Regions from separate parts of the Homo sapiens genome. Here all the other regions are linked to region 6. The links are contacts of gene promoters, found by promoter capture Hi-C in blood cells and fetal thymus (Javierre and others, 2016). All regions are on one chromosome and are shown on one strand. The core of a region is centred on a gene start or on the middle of the fragment in contact, and the rest is flanking DNA. Distances in the headings are between cores, read along the strand shown. Region 1 overlaps CDK14 (cyclin dependent kinase 14). Region 2 overlaps RBM48 (RNA binding motif protein 48). Region 3 has its middle 15 kb from the start of ERVW-1. Region 4 has its middle 27 kb from the start of GATAD1. Region 5 holds the start of FZD1 (frizzled class receptor 1). Region 6 holds the start of MTERF1 (mitochondrial transcription termination factor 1).

Evidence for each region. Contacts are between HindIII fragments. The CHiCAGO score rates a contact against its expected background, and 5 or more counts as called.
Region 1: a contact is called between a fragment that was not itself captured here and the fragment with the promoter of MTERF1 in region 6, in 7 of 17 cell types (naive CD4 T cells, non-activated CD4 T cells, total CD4 T cells and 4 more). The highest score is 18.6, in naive CD4 T cells.
Region 2: a contact is called between a fragment that was not itself captured here and the fragment with the promoter of MTERF1 in region 6, in 2 of 17 cell types (non-activated CD4 T cells and fetal thymus). The highest score is 7.4, in non-activated CD4 T cells.
Region 3: a contact is called between a fragment that was not itself captured here and the fragment with the promoter of MTERF1 in region 6, in 2 of 17 cell types (megakaryocytes and fetal thymus). The highest score is 8.5, in megakaryocytes.
Region 4: a fragment that was not itself captured here is called in contact with the fragment with the promoter of MTERF1 in region 6 in 1 of 17 cell types (fetal thymus); the score reaches 5.8 in fetal thymus.
Region 5: the fragment with the promoter of FZD1 here is called in contact with the fragment with the promoter of MTERF1 in region 6 in 1 of 17 cell types (monocytes); the score reaches 6.2 in monocytes.

The regions. Positions count from the first base shown.
Region 1 is chr7:91,086,859-91,089,618 of GRCh38, forward strand. The region is part of intron 12 of CDK14 (cyclin dependent kinase 14); the gene reads left to right. Among named protein-coding and RNA genes, the nearest start is that of FZD1, 180 kb to the right of the region's middle. The HindIII fragment of the contact is 5,564 bases long and covers 1-2,760 here.
Region 2 is chr7:92,530,729-92,533,479 of GRCh38, forward strand. RBM48 (RNA binding motif protein 48) reads left to right here. Exons shown (of 5, transcript NM_032120.4): 3 at 1,676-1,821. Among named protein-coding and RNA genes, the nearest start is that of RBM48, 3.3 kb to the left of the region's middle. The HindIII fragment of the contact is 286 bases long and covers 1,331-1,616 here.
Region 3 is chr7:92,461,872-92,464,672 of GRCh38, forward strand. It overlaps a transcript of GATAD1 not described here. Among named protein-coding and RNA genes, the nearest start is that of ERVW-1, 15 kb to the right of the region's middle. The HindIII fragment of the contact is 3,225 bases long and covers 1-2,801 here.
Region 4 is chr7:92,419,438-92,422,137 of GRCh38, forward strand. It overlaps the pseudogene TMBIM7P. Among named protein-coding and RNA genes, the nearest start is that of GATAD1, 27 kb to the right of the region's middle. The HindIII fragment of the contact is 3,885 bases long and covers 1-2,700 here.
Region 5 is chr7:91,263,118-91,265,817 of GRCh38, forward strand. It overlaps FZD1 (frizzled class receptor 1), which reads left to right and starts at 1,316. Exons shown (of 1, transcript NM_003505.2): 1 at 1,316-2,700. The coding sequence starts at 1,764. RefSeq lists an enhancer at 1,101-1,280 and silencers at 1,401-1,910, 2,001-2,060. The HindIII fragment of the contact is 4,268 bases long and covers 1-2,700 here.
Region 6 is chr7:91,879,301-91,882,000 of GRCh38, forward strand. MTERF1 (mitochondrial transcription termination factor 1) reads right to left here and starts at 1,402. Exons shown (of 3, transcript NM_006980.5): 1 at 1,357-1,402; 2 at 755-813. The coding sequence starts at 783. It overlaps LOC112267986 (a long non-coding RNA gene), which reads left to right and starts at 1,502. Exons shown (of 2, transcript XR_002956514.2): 1 at 1,502-1,564. The HindIII fragment of the contact is 3,297 bases long and covers 1-2,158 here.

The DNA of each region.
Region 1 (2,760 bases), core at 69-2,568, 790 kb before region 6:
AAATTTAGTGAATGTTCAGCCTCAAAATAAAGATGAATATAAGAAGTCACTGGAGAAAAACACTATTCGCTTTTAGCGTTTTTGTTTTGTTTTTTTGCAGCTTTATTGCCCAGGCTGCAGTGGCATGATCATGGCTCACTACAGCCTTGACCTCCAGGGCTCAAGCAATCCTCCCACCTCAGCCTCCCAAGTAGCTGGGACTATAAGTACCTACCACCATCCCTAGCTAAGAAAGAGATGATTTTAACAACAATGTCATCCCTAGTATCCACTGTTACCCATTCCACCTTCTACTTATTTGATTTTCATGAAACAATATATCCCTCTCTTCATTTGGGGAGACTTTATAATACTGGGGCTCAATTTCTATTCATTGTGAGGATAGAGCTCCTAGAGTATTCTTATTAACACCTGCATCTAACATGTTGTGTACATAGTGGTCTTACTGACCTAAGAATATACCATCAATAAATAGTATTGACATAGCAAAGAAAAAAACAGAAGAGAGGAAGGAAGGTTGCACAAGCTAATTATTGACACAAATAGCAATTAAATGCTTGGAGCCAGCATCATCTTTGGTAGCATAGGAACCAGGTTCATCCCTAGTTCCACTACTGAGCTGTGTAATATTCAGGAAGCTCATTAACCTCTCTGAGCCTCAGCTTTTCAATTTGTATAACCTCTTGGCAGGATTATTGTTTAATCTTTAAGTAAGGTAAGGGTATAAATTACTGGGTACCTTACTAGACACAGTCCTTTGGCAAATATTAGTTTACCTCCCTTCTCTTTTTCAGTGCTCCCTGTCCTACCTCCCAGTGAGAGCGTTTCATTCAGCTCCGAATAAGCAATTACTCTTGAACATGGATACCACTCCTACATAGAGTCCCCAGACATCTTCTGGAATATTCTTTTTACCTTCTTAGGGGCACATGCTGAACTGCTTGGTCACCAAAACTTTTTTTTTTTAATGCTTGTTGTGTAAAAACAAGATTTCCCCTTCCTCAACAGTTTCTTCCTAAGAGTGGTGTGTTAACAAATAGCGTTGTACATAATTAATGCAATACTGTGATTTGTTCTTAGTCTTGAAACACATTTTATTAGACAGTTTTCCAAATTAGATTGAAAGAAACCCATAGACAGGTCACTGTTACCAAGTTCAAATGTCTATTGGACCTTTTCTTGTAATATAACCTGTACACAAACTGATGGATAACCCTAAGCCAGATGTGTGGGATCTGGGCATCCATTTGGCCCAGTCATTTCAGAGGTGAGACTAAAAGTAATTATCCTTGCTGTTTACAGCATTTAAAGGGGGAAGGTAGATGAATTATCTCTCAAAACACAATGAATAAAGGCTGGGAGCATGGCCATGCCATATCTGTTGTGGTGAGGAAAATGGGAAGGGGATTCTGAAAGTAACTGGCCTTTTTCTTTTAGACACTGAGCCACATCCATACCCTAAGGCACAGATCCCATGTTAAACGGTTATTTCCATCATGGCAGTGACATTTACTTTAACAACAGATTTCATTATGTCTTTAACAACAACAAAAATGCACTGAAAAGCCTGAAACACACACATACACAACTCCCAACACAATTATTTTTCTGTCTTCTCTGAAAGAATATTTTAAAATCATTTCAACATCTTTGGGATTTCAGAAAAATCTAGTATTGGTTTACAATGGAAGTCTCATAGAGTTTATATATATGTGTGTGTGTGTGTGTGTGTGTGGTTATTATTACTCAGACTATAAATGAGACAAATGAATAGAAATATTAAAGGGATCAATATTCTGGCCCTCATTATATTGTTATACAGCATATCTTTGTGTATCTCTATGTGAATTCTCTGCTAGTCCTCAGCTGTATTTAATCCCTCAAGACTTGATATACAAACATAATGCCAAATAGAGAACTTCCCTTAAATTATTCAAATCTCCCCATAAGTGATTTCCCACTCTTCCTGCAATAGAAAACATTTGATCATAAATTCAATTAAATCAGCCATCATCTTTGTGATGTTTGTCCAGCTAAATCCTTTAGTGACTAAACCAATAAACATACCAGCTGTGAGTGTGCATGTGTGTGTGTGAGTGTGTGTTTATGGCACAACTATTGCAAAAGAATCGATTTGAAGTAAAGATGAAGGGTAGTTCTCATTTCTTAGGCCAGATTTTAACTACTTCACTGAAGCCAGGGCTTAAAAGATTAAACTTTTAGGGATAAAATCATGTGTACTTCTTTAAATGCTTTGGCTTTTATTTGCTAATTTAGAACTGAGTTTTAATAAGTTTTAGATCAAAACTGATGTACTTTGGAGATGTTAGGAAAAGGCATCAAACCACGTCAACCATTCTTCCTTCTCTTTCTTCCCCAGCCTCTCCTCCCTAGTTAAAACAAAGAAAAAATGACTGTCGACATACTTTTAAGTTTCTCAGGGAAAACGGCATGATAGGACTATATTACTGTTTATAATTTCTTATATGTCTGTCGGCTGAAGAGGTAAAGTTTATCAGAGGCTTATAAATGTTGATTGCTTCTCATCTTGATTCTAAAGCCTTTTAGACACGCAGATATACCCAACCTCCTCCCCTCTTTTTCATCTTACCTTTACTAATGATCCTATTTGGATATAACTGAACCCTATTTATGCATCTTCACATATGTGTATATCCATGTGGCCTGTAGAGGGCAGCATGCTCTGAGGGGAAAAAAAAAAAAAAACAGGCAACTGTTTATCTCCGTAAAATATGAGAT
Region 2 (2,751 bases), core at 224-2,723, 650 kb after region 6:
AGTGGAGGTTGCAGTGAGCCAAGATCATGCCATTGCACTCCAGCCTGGGCAAGAGTGAGACTGTCTCAAAAAAAAAAAAAGAAAAAGTTGGATTTGATCCCAGCACTTTGGAAGGCCAAGGTAGGCAGATTGCTTGAGCCCAGGAGTTCGAGACCAGACTGGCCAACATGGCCAGTATTTTGTATTTTGTAAAAATACAAAAATCAAGCTGGGTGTGTTGGTGCATTCCTGTAGTTCCAGCTACTTGGGAGGCCGAGGTAGGAGAATCAGTTGAGCCCAGGAGGTGGAGGTTGCAGTGAGTCTTATGGGCCACTACACTCCATCCTGGGTGATGGAGTGAGACTCTGTCTCAAAAGAAAAAAAAAGTTGGGTTTGGAGTAAGTTTTCCATTTCCACTGCTTACTAGCTTCATGATCTTGGGCAAGTTATTTAACCTGTTTAAGTTTTTCCTCTTCCATAAAATCTGTATGGTAAAGGGACCTATCTACTTCTTGGGGTTGTATGAGGATGAAATGAGATAATCCATATAAAGGTGTATCCTGGTCAGAATACAGTAAACATTAGCTATTGTGGTTTCTACTGTTACTCCTTTCTGCAAACTGACTCAGTTTTTTCCAGCCTTCTATGTGACATAATCCTCTGCTCCAAAAAGGCTGAAGTATGCAGTGCCTTATCTATTTTTATATTGATCTCTGTTCTCCTCACTAATCTGCTCTGAGACCCATCCTTCTCTGGCTATTACAATTCATATTTTCTTTCTTGTGCTATCAGTAGAACTCATAGTCTACCACAAAAGCACTTGATTTTACTGGGTCTTGTGTGGTTTTCTCAGGCTGCTGTTATATGTAATTTCACTTTCTTAACCAACCTGCCAGCTCCCATGGTTAGGGAAACATTTTCTAGAGCTTTTCTGTTTTCTATAGTACGTAGTCTGGTAGGCTCTGAAGTAAGACATCTGGATTTGAATCCTTGCTCCTCAAACCAGACTATGAGCATGGCTAAGTTACATAATGTCCCAGTGCTTCAGTTTCATTACAGTGTTGTTTTTAGGTGTTAATTCAAGTGAAGCGCTTATGACATTGCCTGGCATATGGTGAAATCTCAACAAGTATTTATCATTATCCCTGGATATAGAAGTAGTTAAATTTATTGTAGTACCTGGCCAGTCATAGATGTTTAGTAAGTATTTATTGACTGAATAACATTCTTCTCATTTTCTCATTGTTATATATTTAATAGTTCCTCAGTTATTGAATGTTTTATGATTATAGTATCTTTCATCTGATTTTTAAGGCATGAATCCCATCACAGAAATACATAGTGCTGAAAAAGCTTAATTGGGTATGAACCAACTCTTCAGGGCCACAGAGAAAAGCTCCATTTTATGACCACAGTTTACATACTTCAGGCCAACCAGCTGGGTCCTTAGTTGTTTAAAGACTAGGGAACAAAGAGGCTCAAAGGGAAGGAAAGGGGAGGCTCTACGAGTACATACTCGATCAATGGGATGAATACTGTCCACAAGCAGAGCATCTTAATTCCCAATCCACAGGATATATATACACGTAGCAAAAGCTGGACTTTGCTCTTTAGATCCAGATATTGCATACTAGTTAAGCTTTCATCCCAAGTAAATCTAGATTAAAAAACTATGCTATCTTGTATTTCCATTCAGGACAGCCAAGAGAAAAATGGATGAACAGAGTTTCTTCGGTGGATTGCTTCATGTGTGCTATGCTCCAGAATTTGAAACAGTTGAAGAAACTAGAAAAAAACTACAAATGCGGAAGGCATATGTAGTAAAAACTACTGAAAATAAAGGTATGGAAAGCATATTGCTAAATGCCTCCTGTGTGTCAGGCACTCTGCCAGGTGTGTCATCATGCAATTCCCAGTCTAGTGGTAGGAGAGGCAAGTAAACCATCACAGTATTCAGTAACTGTGAACCACAGGGTTCTCTGCAGCACACTACATAATCTGGGTTGAGAAGGGAGAAATATTGGTTCATAGAAGACTTCCTATAGTATGTGAGAAGTGGCTGAATTTTAAAGGATAAGTAGACGTTAACTAAATGGGAGAGGAAAAGATGGAAAGGCAAGCCAGGCAAGATGTTTAAATGTTTAGAGGAATAAATGAGCATCATGCATTTAAGGAACTTTAATTAATACAGTATAACCAAAGCCCAAAGGTTTCAGTGAGAGATAAGTTTAGAAAAGTGGGTAAGAAGTGAATCATGGAGGGCCTTGTGTCCCATGCTAAGGAATTAAGGCTTTGACCAGAATGCAGTGAGAAGCAGTTATGATTTGCAGTTGTCAAATCATATAGTTGTCACTGCTAATCATGGAGAAGTTCTACTTTTGACCAGCAATTGGCTAAATGCCCCCACATGCCTGTTCTACCACATAGTGATGGAGAGAAATAAAGTGGGAAAACTCTTGGAAAACTTACTCAGAAATCTGGTAAGAGAGCTGTTGAGAATCCCCAGTCATCTGCAGACATTGAACTCTAACTTGTAAGATAAGTAAATAAATAGCACCAGGAAAACTTGTATGTTTGTGTGGCAAAGGAAATTATAAAATATTAATGTGGAGAAAGACCTTTGACATTATCTGACCTGGGTCCTAATTTTTCTGGGTGAGGAAACTAAGTCTCAGAAAGTTTGTGACCTGCCTATATTATTAGAGATGAATTAAAGACAAAATAAGGGTTAAAACCCAAGCTTTGGACTCTGTCCAGAGTTTACTTTTTAAC
Region 3 (2,801 bases), core at 223-2,722, 580 kb after region 6:
ACTTCTGCCATATGCTGTTGGGTCACACAGACCAACTCTGGTACAGTGTGAACACAGGACCACACAAGGGCGTGAATTCCAAGGGCAGAGACCACTAGGGACCACCTCAGAGGCACAGAGGGACACCCTATCCAGCTGGTGGCCAATGTAAATTAACATAGCTTTTTAGAATAGCAATATGTATCTATAATCTTAAAAGTATTAAAAGTACTTCTTGATCCAGTAATTTCATTTCTAAGAATCCATGCTAAGAGGATTTAAAATGTGGACCAAAAAATGGGTATAAAAAGAAGTTGTTAACAGTATTTAAAGTTGTGAAAAACCAGAAACAATCTAAAGGTCCAACAATAGGAAAATGAATTTTGATATTTTTCTAATAGAATTTTATGCTGTCATCAGAAATACCATTTACAAATAATTTTTAATAACGCAAAAAAAAGTTTATAAAATGTTTAGTGTAAAACCTGGACACAACTACATAATGATTCTGATTTTGTAAAAAAAAAAAACAAAAACACACACATATACACATGCATACATATGCATATAAAGAAAACTGGAACAAACAAAATAACAAGCATAGTTGGAATTACAGTCATTTTAATATTCTTTATGCTTTTAAAAATTTTGAAGTTTGTATTACTAGCATCCACTACTTACGTAGTCAGGAAAAAAATACAACTTTAAAATAGATATTTAGGTCCAAAGATGGTAATCTAAATGGTGTTACAGGCTGAATGTGTGCCTGATCCCCATGCCCCAAGTTCATATGTTAAAGCCCTGGCCCCCAAGGCAATGGTATTAGGGGAGTAGGGCCTTTGGGAGGTAATCAGATTTCTACGAGGTCATGAGGGTGGAGCCCGCATAGTGGAATTAGTGTCCTTTTAGGAAGAGGAGAACAGACCAAAGCCTTCCTTTCTCTCCTCACTATGTAAGAAGACAGCCAGAAGGTGGCCACAGCCAGGAAGAGAGCTCTCACCAGAACCCAAATCTGCTAGCACCTTGCTCTTGGGTTCTCAGCATCCAGAACTGTGAGAAATGAATGTGTGTTGTTTAAACCACTCAGGCTACGGTATTTTGTTGCAGCAGCCCAAGCTGACAGAGATAGAAACAACACAAGGACCCATCAGCAGACGAATGGATGATCAAAACGTGGTGAGGTCGTGCAGTGGGATATTATTCAGCCGTAGAAGGAATGAAATTCTGATACATGCTATAATGATGAACCTTGAAAACATGTTAATGGAAATAAGCCAAACTTAAAAGGACAAATATTGTATAATTCCACTTATATGAGTTAGTTACCTAGAATAGGCAAATTATGTCATAGATACAGAACATTAGAGGTTACCAGGGTTGTGGGAAGAGGGGTATTGTGGGTACAAATTTTCGGTTTGGAGTGATTTTGAAAAAATTCTGGAAATGGGTAGTGACAGTAGTCAACATGATGAATGTACTTAATGACACTAAATTGTACACTTAAAAATGGTTAATACTGGGCTGGCGCAGTGGCTCATGGCTGTAAATCCCAGAACTTTGGGAGGCCAAGACAGGCGGATCATGAGGTCAGGAGATTGAGACCATTCTGGCTAACATGGTGAAACCCTGTCTCTACTAAAAAATAAAAACAAATAAAAAAAAAATTAGCCGGGCATGGTGGCAGGCACCTGTAGTCCCAGCTACTCGGGAGGCTGAGGCAGGAGAATGGTGTGACCTGGGAGTCGGAGCTTGCAGTGAGCTGAGATCGCGCCACTGCACTCCAGCCTGGGCAACAGAGCCAGATTCCGTCTCAAAAAAAAAAAAAAAAAGGTTGATACCTGGGTGCGGTGGCTCATGCCTGTAATTTCAGCACTTTGGGAGGCCAAGGCAGGCAGATCAGTTGAGGTCAAGAGTTAAGGACCAGCCTGGCCAACGTGGCGAAACCCCATCTCTATTAAAAATACAAAAATTAGTCGAGTGTGGTGGTGGGTGCCTGTAGTCCCAGCTGCTGGGAGGATGAGGCCTAGGAATTGCTTGAACCCAGGAGGCAGAGGTTGCAGTGAGTTGAGATTGCGCCACTGCACTCCAGCCTGGGGGACAGAGCGAGACTTAGTCTCAAAAAAAAGGTTAAAATTGTAAGTTTTGTTATGCATATTTTACCATAATCTTTAAAAAATAGATATATAGGAGATAAAGTCAACAGAATTTAATAACCAGTTGTAAATAGAGACTGAGTGAGGAGGATGAATTAAGGAAGACATTGAGTACAACTTTTTGGTAGGTGAAAAACTCTTAAAAAAATACGTGGGCAAAGATCCTACTTGATTCTTATAATTTAAAAATCTCCCAGTTAGTAAACAAGGCTAGGTGGAGATTTGCATGTGATGTGAGGTGTGTGTTCTGTTTTGTAATGTGAGGACTGTGAGCCATCTCCTGGACTTGAATATCCATTAGATAATTGAAAATACGGATTTGAGAACTCAGGAGACGTGCAATGCAGTAACAAAACTCTGCACCTAGTTGATTTCTGTCTCCTAATTTAATGCTTTTATGGGACAAACTGTTAGGCAGGTGGGCAAGATGGACAGCCATATTTTTGTGGGTTTCTGGCCTGTGGGCCAGCCTCAGTGCTCACTCTGAGGTCATGTCCAAACTTAGAACACATTCAGGCCTACCACAGTCAAGGCTCCCTTTCTCAACTCTAGTCCTCTGCACAAATATCCGAAGCCTAGAAATAATAATCATCTGTCCTTGTGTCTTGCATTATGAAAGCCTAGGAAAGGGCCTTGGGAATTAAGAAGAATGGAAAAACTGGTCTAACT
Region 4 (2,700 bases), core at 184-2,683, 540 kb after region 6:
GGTCTGAATTGAGGTGTGCTTTAAGTGTAAAATACACAACTGGATTTCGAATTTCAGCTCAAAAAAAGTAAAATATCTCATTCATATTTGGGTTATGTGGATTACGTGTCAAAATGGTAATGCTGCATATATATATATATATATATATATATATATATGGTTATGAGTTATATGGTTAAATAAAATATACTATCTAAAGAATGTCACCTGTCCCTTTTGACTTTTTACTGTAGTTACTAGAAAATTTAAGATTATACATATGACTTGCATTTGTGGCTCACATTATACTTCTCTTGGACAACCCAGGTCTGGAGAGCAGTAAATCTGGCTTAGGACAATGAAACCCTAAGGCTTGCTCCTTGTTGGCAGAAAGAAGATGTGACATCATTAAGGAAGGATAACTGGGGTGAGGTAAATTCAGGTGGGGAGCCCTGTCAGCTCTGACCAAGCCCAAGAGAGAGCAGGTTCCAAGTCACACCTGTGGTGGGTTGTCAGCTTCAGAGGCCCACAGAGCAGGCAGTCACTCTGGGGTCCAGGTGACAGTCATTCAGGAACAATGGTGGACGGTAGCATCCCCACCCCATCCTCGCCCTGTCCCCTTCTTGGCCAGTGCCAAGAGCCCACACAAACCACAGTCACATCCCATATTCCCAGACCCCACTTTAGAGAGAAAGGCAGGGAGACAGGGAGGCTGAGCAGCTGAGTGTTTTGTATCCACATGACACTATCACCCAGCCCAAAGGAACTGCTTCAACTGTGAGGTCCAATTACAGTTAAACCAAATGGACATTTAGTTAATTTTCTCCCTGCTAAGTGGACAGTTGGGGTTCATGAAAAAACTCAAGACTCATTGTGTTCCTACATTTCCTCTACACTGCTTGGGTTGTGGTTGGACTGAATTTTGCCATCTCCAATACATAATAAGGGAGAAGAATGTGGTTGACCATGGGTTCAGCTGCCTTTCAAAGTCATCAATGTGAATACCATCTTTAAAATATTTTCTGGCCGGGCATAGTGGCTCATGCCTGTAATCCTAGCAGTTTTGGAGGTGAGGAGGGAGAATCACTTGAGCCTAGGAATTCAAGACCAGCCTGGGCAACATAAGGAGAACCCTACTCTACAAAATATTTAAAAATTAGCCAGGTGTGGTGGCAAATGCTTGTAGTCCCAGCTACTTGGGAGGCTGAGATGGGAGGATCACTTGAGCCCTGGAAGCAGAGGCTGCAATGAGCCATGTCTGCACCACTGCACTCCAGCCTGGGTGACAGGGCAAGAGCCTGTCTCAAAAATAAATAAATAAACAAACAATAAAATAAAATGCTTTGCAATGCAATATTCACTCCCCTGAACCCAGGTCATAGGTTACCTGTGACTTAAAATACTAATGGGCTTTTTAAAAAGTATTCTGGCAGTTTAGAGGATTTTTTTTTTTGAGACATAGTCTCATTCTGTCACCAGGCTGGAGTGCAGTGGCACGATCTCGGTTCACTGCAACCTCCGCCTCCGGGGTTCAAGCGATTCTCCTGCCTCAGCCTCCTGAGTAGATGGGACTACAGGCGCACGCCACCACACCCAGCTGATTTTTGTATTTTTAGTAGAGACGGGGTTTTACCATGTTGGCCAGGATGGTCTCGATCTCTTGACCTTGTGATCCGCCCGCCTTGGCTTCCCGAAAGTGCTGGGATTACAGGCATGAGCCACCACACCTGGCCAGCTTAGAGGATTTTAAATGGCTTAAGGAGTCTGTGCATTCAACAGTGGTCCACCTTACTCATTGCAAGGAAGCCTATCTATTTACAAATAGGCTGGTTTCTACAAATGGCCAGCTTTAAGATGGCAAATACTGATCTCATCATGAATTAAAGTTGAATCTCTAACTTTTGATACAGTTTAACTAAATATCTAGTAGATCCTTCTGTCTCTCTGACACTTCTTTTTCCACTAGGAAAATGCTAAAATTCTGCATGTGTGTAAGATCTTCCTTATGATGTGTGCCAAACAGCTTGGGAAATGCACTCCCTTCTGTGTAAGTTATTTACCTAACTAAGGCCAGCCCATGCTTTACAAAAGGAAATTGACCAGGACTGAAAGGAGGGGCCGCAGGAAATGCTGCATCAGATCTCAAGAACACCCTATGGTTGGACAGAGGCTGAGCCATCTCACAATTCAACTGAAATAATCTCAAATTATGAGATGTTCTCTGGGACATCTTGGCATTTTGGAGCCTGGTAAACTGTACAACTTTTAAATTTTTAAATTCCCTGTATCAGTCAGGGCCCCAGCAAGGAACAGATGACACACTCAAATAGGATGATTTGAGGAGGGTTTGTTTGTAAAGGAACTCTCCACAGAAGTGTCTGCAGGCAACCAGAACGGGTAGTGAAGTAAGCTAGTCTGGCAGCCAGCCAAAGAGCTGTTACCAGCCCCAGGCCCAAAGAGGAAAGGAGAGGGGGCAGTTACAGGAGTCCAGAAGGTTGTGTTGAGTTGGCCACCTTGTGACAGGCAGTGAATCTTGCTAAGGCACACCGCTAGCCCAAGAGGAACTTGTCATTGGGAGGAAGCCATAGGAATCAGTACCTCTCTCTTCCTGCCTCCTGTCTCCAGCTGGAACTCCCCATTGGCCAAAGCCCATGGAAAGCCCTAAGGCAAGAGGGCCCTGGAGGTGAGACCTCCAGGACTGAGAGAGCAGGGGAAGGCATA
Region 5 (2,700 bases), core at 66-2,565, 620 kb before region 6:
TAAGAGTGCTTATAGCACAATGGGTGGTTGGTATCTATTAAACAAATGAATGTGTAAATGAATGATAGAAAGTAATTGGTGAAAAGTACGCTGAGATAGAGTCTGATCACAGGCAAAAAAAAAAAAAAAATGGAAGAATTAATAGTCCAATGGCACTTTTCTTATAAAACTGAATTACATAGTCAAACCATCATTTAAAATAATCTTACAAGGAAAACAACATTAATGTGCGTCTGTTGAGACGGATTATGCTGTTTTGGAATTAGGAAGAGAATGTGCAGTTCGCTGTTTGCTTTCAGACTGTTTGTTTGTTTTGTTTATTAAACTGGCGTCTCCAGCTCTGCAGCCCAGCCTGTGGAACCTAAATGGCCCAGGTCCCAGGAGTTCCCATCGGAGCCGTGGGCGTCCCCAGGGTTTAGAAAGGCTCCCCAGGGGCCCAAGCTGCCGGCGAGTGCAGCTCCCGCCGGCGCCACCTCTGCGGTCTGGAGCGGCGAGGACGATCCCAGAGAGGCGCCCCCACTGCCTCGGTCGTCGGGTTCTTAAGTTTTTCTCTCCAAAAATTTAATGGATAGTTTTCTTTTGCTTCTGTTTCTGACTTGATTAAAGAGGCGGAAAAAAAGGAGTTTGACTCCAAGAAGAATGATAGTAGCAGAAGGCGCATCTGGCTTTACTTTCCAAATTCCATCAAAGTTTGTGTTTTGTTTCATTTGACAGCGATCCCGTGAACGTCTCCTCTGGGGAAATGGCGCGACCAAAGCCCGCCAAGCCCAGCCTGCGAACTGGAGGATTTATTAATGTAATATGTTAAACAAAACCTCGACAGACACAAACTCAAAGGAAACCGTGCGCTCCTTAAGTCAAAGGCATCTGTTCTGGAAGCAGAACCCGGTTTGCTGTTGGTAACCAGCGTTAAGAGCAGGATTTTTAAACATGATAATGGATAAAATAAAAGAAAAGCGAAGTCCCGCGGTCCTCTGACTCCTATTCATTATCTCCAGCAGCATATGGGACCATTCTCCTACGTATCCTCGCCTTTTTCTTCTGAAAAAGCAAAAGCAACCAAGCCTGTCCCGCTTCAGAGCAATCCTACTCTTTGTGCCTGAGTAGTGCCACCACCACTACTTCCTCCTCCTCCCGCCTCCTCCTACCCCGCCCTCCTGCCGCTGGCTTTCGCTCTGGCGAGGAGGCGGCCGGCTCCCTTTGCGCCGGGAAGCCGGAGCCGCGATTGGGCGACGGTCCCTGAGCCTCCAGTTCTGCGTCGGTTTCAAGGCTCCTCCCTCCTGGTGAAAGACAGACTACGGGGCGCCTGGAAACCGGTCCGAGGGCGCGCGAGGCAGAGGAGAGGGAGCGAGTTGAGGGATTGACACAAATGGTCAGGCGGCGGCGGCGGAGAAGGAGGCGGAGGCGCAGGGGGGAGCCGAGCCCGCTGGGCTGCGGAGAGTTGCGCTCTCTACGGGGCCGCGGCCACTAGCGCGGCGCCGCCAGCCGGGAGCCAGCGAGCCGAGGGCCAGGAAGGCGGGACACGACCCCGGCGCGCCCTAGCCACCCGGGTTCTCCCCGCCGCCCGCGCTTCATGAATCGCAAGTTTCCGCGGCGGCGGCGGCTGCGGTACGCAGAACAGGAGCCGGGGGAGCGGGCCGAAAGCGGCTTGGGCTCGACGGAGGGCACCCGCGCAGAGGTCTCCCTGGCCGCAGGGGGAGCCGCCGCCGGCCGTGCCCCTGGCAGCCCCAGCGGAGCGGCGCCAAGAGAGGAGCCGAGAAAGTATGGCTGAGGAGGAGGCGCCTAAGAAGTCCCGGGCCGCCGGCGGTGGCGCGAGCTGGGAACTTTGTGCCGGGGCGCTCTCGGCCCGGCTGGCGGAGGAGGGCAGCGGGGACGCCGGTGGCCGCCGCCGCCCGCCAGTTGACCCCCGGCGATTGGCGCGCCAGCTGCTGCTGCTGCTTTGGCTGCTGGAGGCTCCGCTGCTGCTGGGGGTCCGGGCCCAGGCGGCGGGCCAGGGGCCAGGCCAGGGGCCCGGGCCGGGGCAGCAACCGCCGCCGCCGCCTCAGCAGCAACAGAGCGGGCAGCAGTACAACGGCGAGCGGGGCATCTCCGTCCCGGACCACGGCTATTGCCAGCCCATCTCCATCCCGCTGTGCACGGACATCGCGTACAACCAGACCATCATGCCCAACCTGCTGGGCCACACGAACCAGGAGGACGCGGGCCTGGAGGTGCACCAGTTCTACCCTCTAGTGAAAGTGCAGTGTTCCGCTGAGCTCAAGTTCTTCCTGTGCTCCATGTACGCGCCCGTGTGCACCGTGCTAGAGCAGGCGCTGCCGCCCTGCCGCTCCCTGTGCGAGCGCGCGCGCCAGGGCTGCGAGGCGCTCATGAACAAGTTCGGCTTCCAGTGGCCAGACACGCTCAAGTGTGAGAAGTTCCCGGTGCACGGCGCCGGCGAGCTGTGCGTGGGCCAGAACACGTCCGACAAGGGCACCCCGACGCCCTCGCTGCTTCCAGAGTTCTGGACCAGCAACCCTCAGCACGGCGGCGGAGGGCACCGTGGCGGCTTCCCGGGGGGCGCCGGCGCGTCGGAGCGAGGCAAGTTCTCCTGCCCGCGCGCCCTCAAGGTGCCCTCCTACCTCAACTACCACTTCCTGGGGGAGAAGGACTGCGGCGCACCTTGTGAGCCGACCAAGGTGTATGGGCTCATGTACTTCGGGC
Region 6 (2,700 bases), core at 152-2,651:
AAGGCCGATCTACTGCAATCAAAAGATGTCAGATATTCTACATGACAAACTGCTTAACAGTATGGATAATGCCATGTATATTAAAGGCGGGGAGGGGGACGTTAATATATACAGAGGGGGAAAGTGGAATGACACTTATTTCTGAAAGATTATTAGAGGCTATGTACTACTTCTGAAATACTGGGACTTTATTTAATGAATATGTGTTACTTTGCAGTCAGATGAAAAAATTTAAACAAGTAAAACTGGCCTTTGGTGTGAAAAACAATGGAAAATACAAATTATCTTTATCTATTTTTCGGTTTCTAGTACCAAAAAAGTCACACTTCAAAATTCTCCATGATGCTTTACTCTTAGCAACGGATCTCCATTCAAAATACTCATAATATCTAGTAGGGTAAATGAACATCTAAATAGCCTAATACAAGAAAGTTAGCAACTTTCCTCACGTACAAATTTCAAAAATGGTACCTATTCAAAAATTGACTTCGATCTATTTCTCAAATTGACTTTTTAATTAACCAAAACCATTATCCAAAGGGCTAATGTTCAAACTTAACAAACACTGAAAATTTCTATGCTTGTAGTATGAGGGGTCTAAAAAAAGATTTACGTTCGCCTCTGCCCCACAACTGGCCTGTTAAAAAGGCTGTTAATGGAAATAACTAATCACTGGCCCTAAAATACCACATTCCAGCTGGTCTTCTTTTGATACAGCAAGCTAAGTTTGGAGATCTTTACATGCATTTCTCACCTTGTTTGTCCTAAGGAAAGGCTCTGCATCCCTCCAGAAAGGCTGGAGAACAGCTATCTCTGGAAATGACACACACACACAAAAAAAAGGCAAAATATTTCAGGCCTTCCTAATACAAAATAAGAGATCGATCCCAGCTAACGTTCTCGTTGCATTATGTTCTCGTGAGATGCATTACCTCTTGCAAACAACATTTCTCAGACATACAGAAAAGAAAACGGCAAGTACATGCCTACATATGATGGGAAAAGGTAGCGGAATCACGAATACGTTTTGTACCAAAGCTAAGTGCTTCATATATATTGTCTCGCTTTACTCCCCACAACAATTTAAAAGGTAGGCATAAGCCTTAAAATTACAAAATCTGAAACAGCGCCGAGCTCCCATACTAGCCTGCCTTCGCTAGCTGAAGCATTAGGGTTCGAACCCAGGTGGGTCTTTCTTAACTCAAAACCAAGGTAATTCCACACCGAAGGCTCTTTCCATCCCTCTTCCTCCTCCAAAGACAAATCTGCAAAGGGCTGCACTGTACAGCAGTCACCCACACCCACTTCTTAACAAAAAGAAAGGAAAGCACAGCCTCACCACCTTCCCAATCTCACCCTGAACTGCACCCATCCACTGTAGTTCGCTTTTACTTCCGCCTCTGGGGTCCGGAGCGGCTAGGAGGAGCGGAAGTGGAAAAGACTAACTTCCGGCCTCGGGTCGCGCGCAGAGGTGATGTCGTTGGTCCTGCGCCCCCTCGTGGCGGTACTTCAGCCCTTCGCAGCCCGACGCTAGGGGCCTGGCAGGGGGCAGCAAGAGACCGCGGTGAGCGCGGGGTATTGAACGCCAAAGAAGGGGTTTGGAGGGTGGGGTGGGGCCTGGGACTCCCAGTCGCCTGGGCAGATGTCCGTGGGGAACTGTAAGGCATCTTATAGGGATCCTACAGGGGGCATCCACTGCCGGCCGACGACACGTGGTGGAAAAGTAGCTATTATTTACATGCGTGTTGCAGTTTTTGATAATGCGATTGCTGCTGCTAATGTGACTAACGCGATGCCGATGAACATCTCGGCGTTTTTTGGTGCAGGATAAGCGGGTGTAGACTCTGTCTGTTTAGTCCCAGATTCTCCTCCTTTAATGAACTACCGTGGAAATCCTGGAGTGTCACTGCTGGTCTGAATTCAGCATCCGCCTTCAGGCTGGAAATCAATTCTAGTATACTTCGATTTCCTTACTTGCAGTTCGAATTCAAATATGATTCTTTTGACATTGTGAGGGTTTGCGCTATTTAAAGAATGGAGGCAACCGAAACCTCATCTCCACAGTGGATGCATTTTTGCTCCCTCCCGAGGCGTTGCCTTAAGCCACGCGGTCCTGTCAGCCTCACCTGCCTAGTGATGGTGACAATGGAAGAGATAAAGCTTCAATTCAAGGCACTTCTCCTGTGACCATCAAAAGAAAGATAATATCTACATTAATGAATTAATTGTGTCTGTCGAGTTATCCTCAGGAGACGATGGTGATTTGGTCCTTAAAAAAACACAGGATCAACAGGATTGACCCTGAATTCTACAAAGAGGAAAAATTTCAGGCATTACTAACTCCTCCATGTACAAGCCTAATGATGTAATTTTCTGGCCGGGCGCGATGGCTCATGCCTGTAATCCCAGCACTTTGGGAGGCCAAGGCGGGAGGATGGCTTGAGGCCAGGAGTTCGAGACCAGCCTGGCCAACATGGTGAAACCCCATCTCTACAAAAAGTACAAACATTAGCCAGGCGTGGTCACAGGTGCCTGTAGTCCCAGCTACTTGGGAGGCTAAGGTGGGAGAATCACCTGAGCCTGGGAGGTTGAGGCTGCAGTGAGCCGTGATTGTGCCACTACACTCTAGCCTGGGTGACACAGTGAACCTTGTCTCAAGAAAGAAAAAGAATTTTCTTTATCCCATTTCTTTCTCCTTTT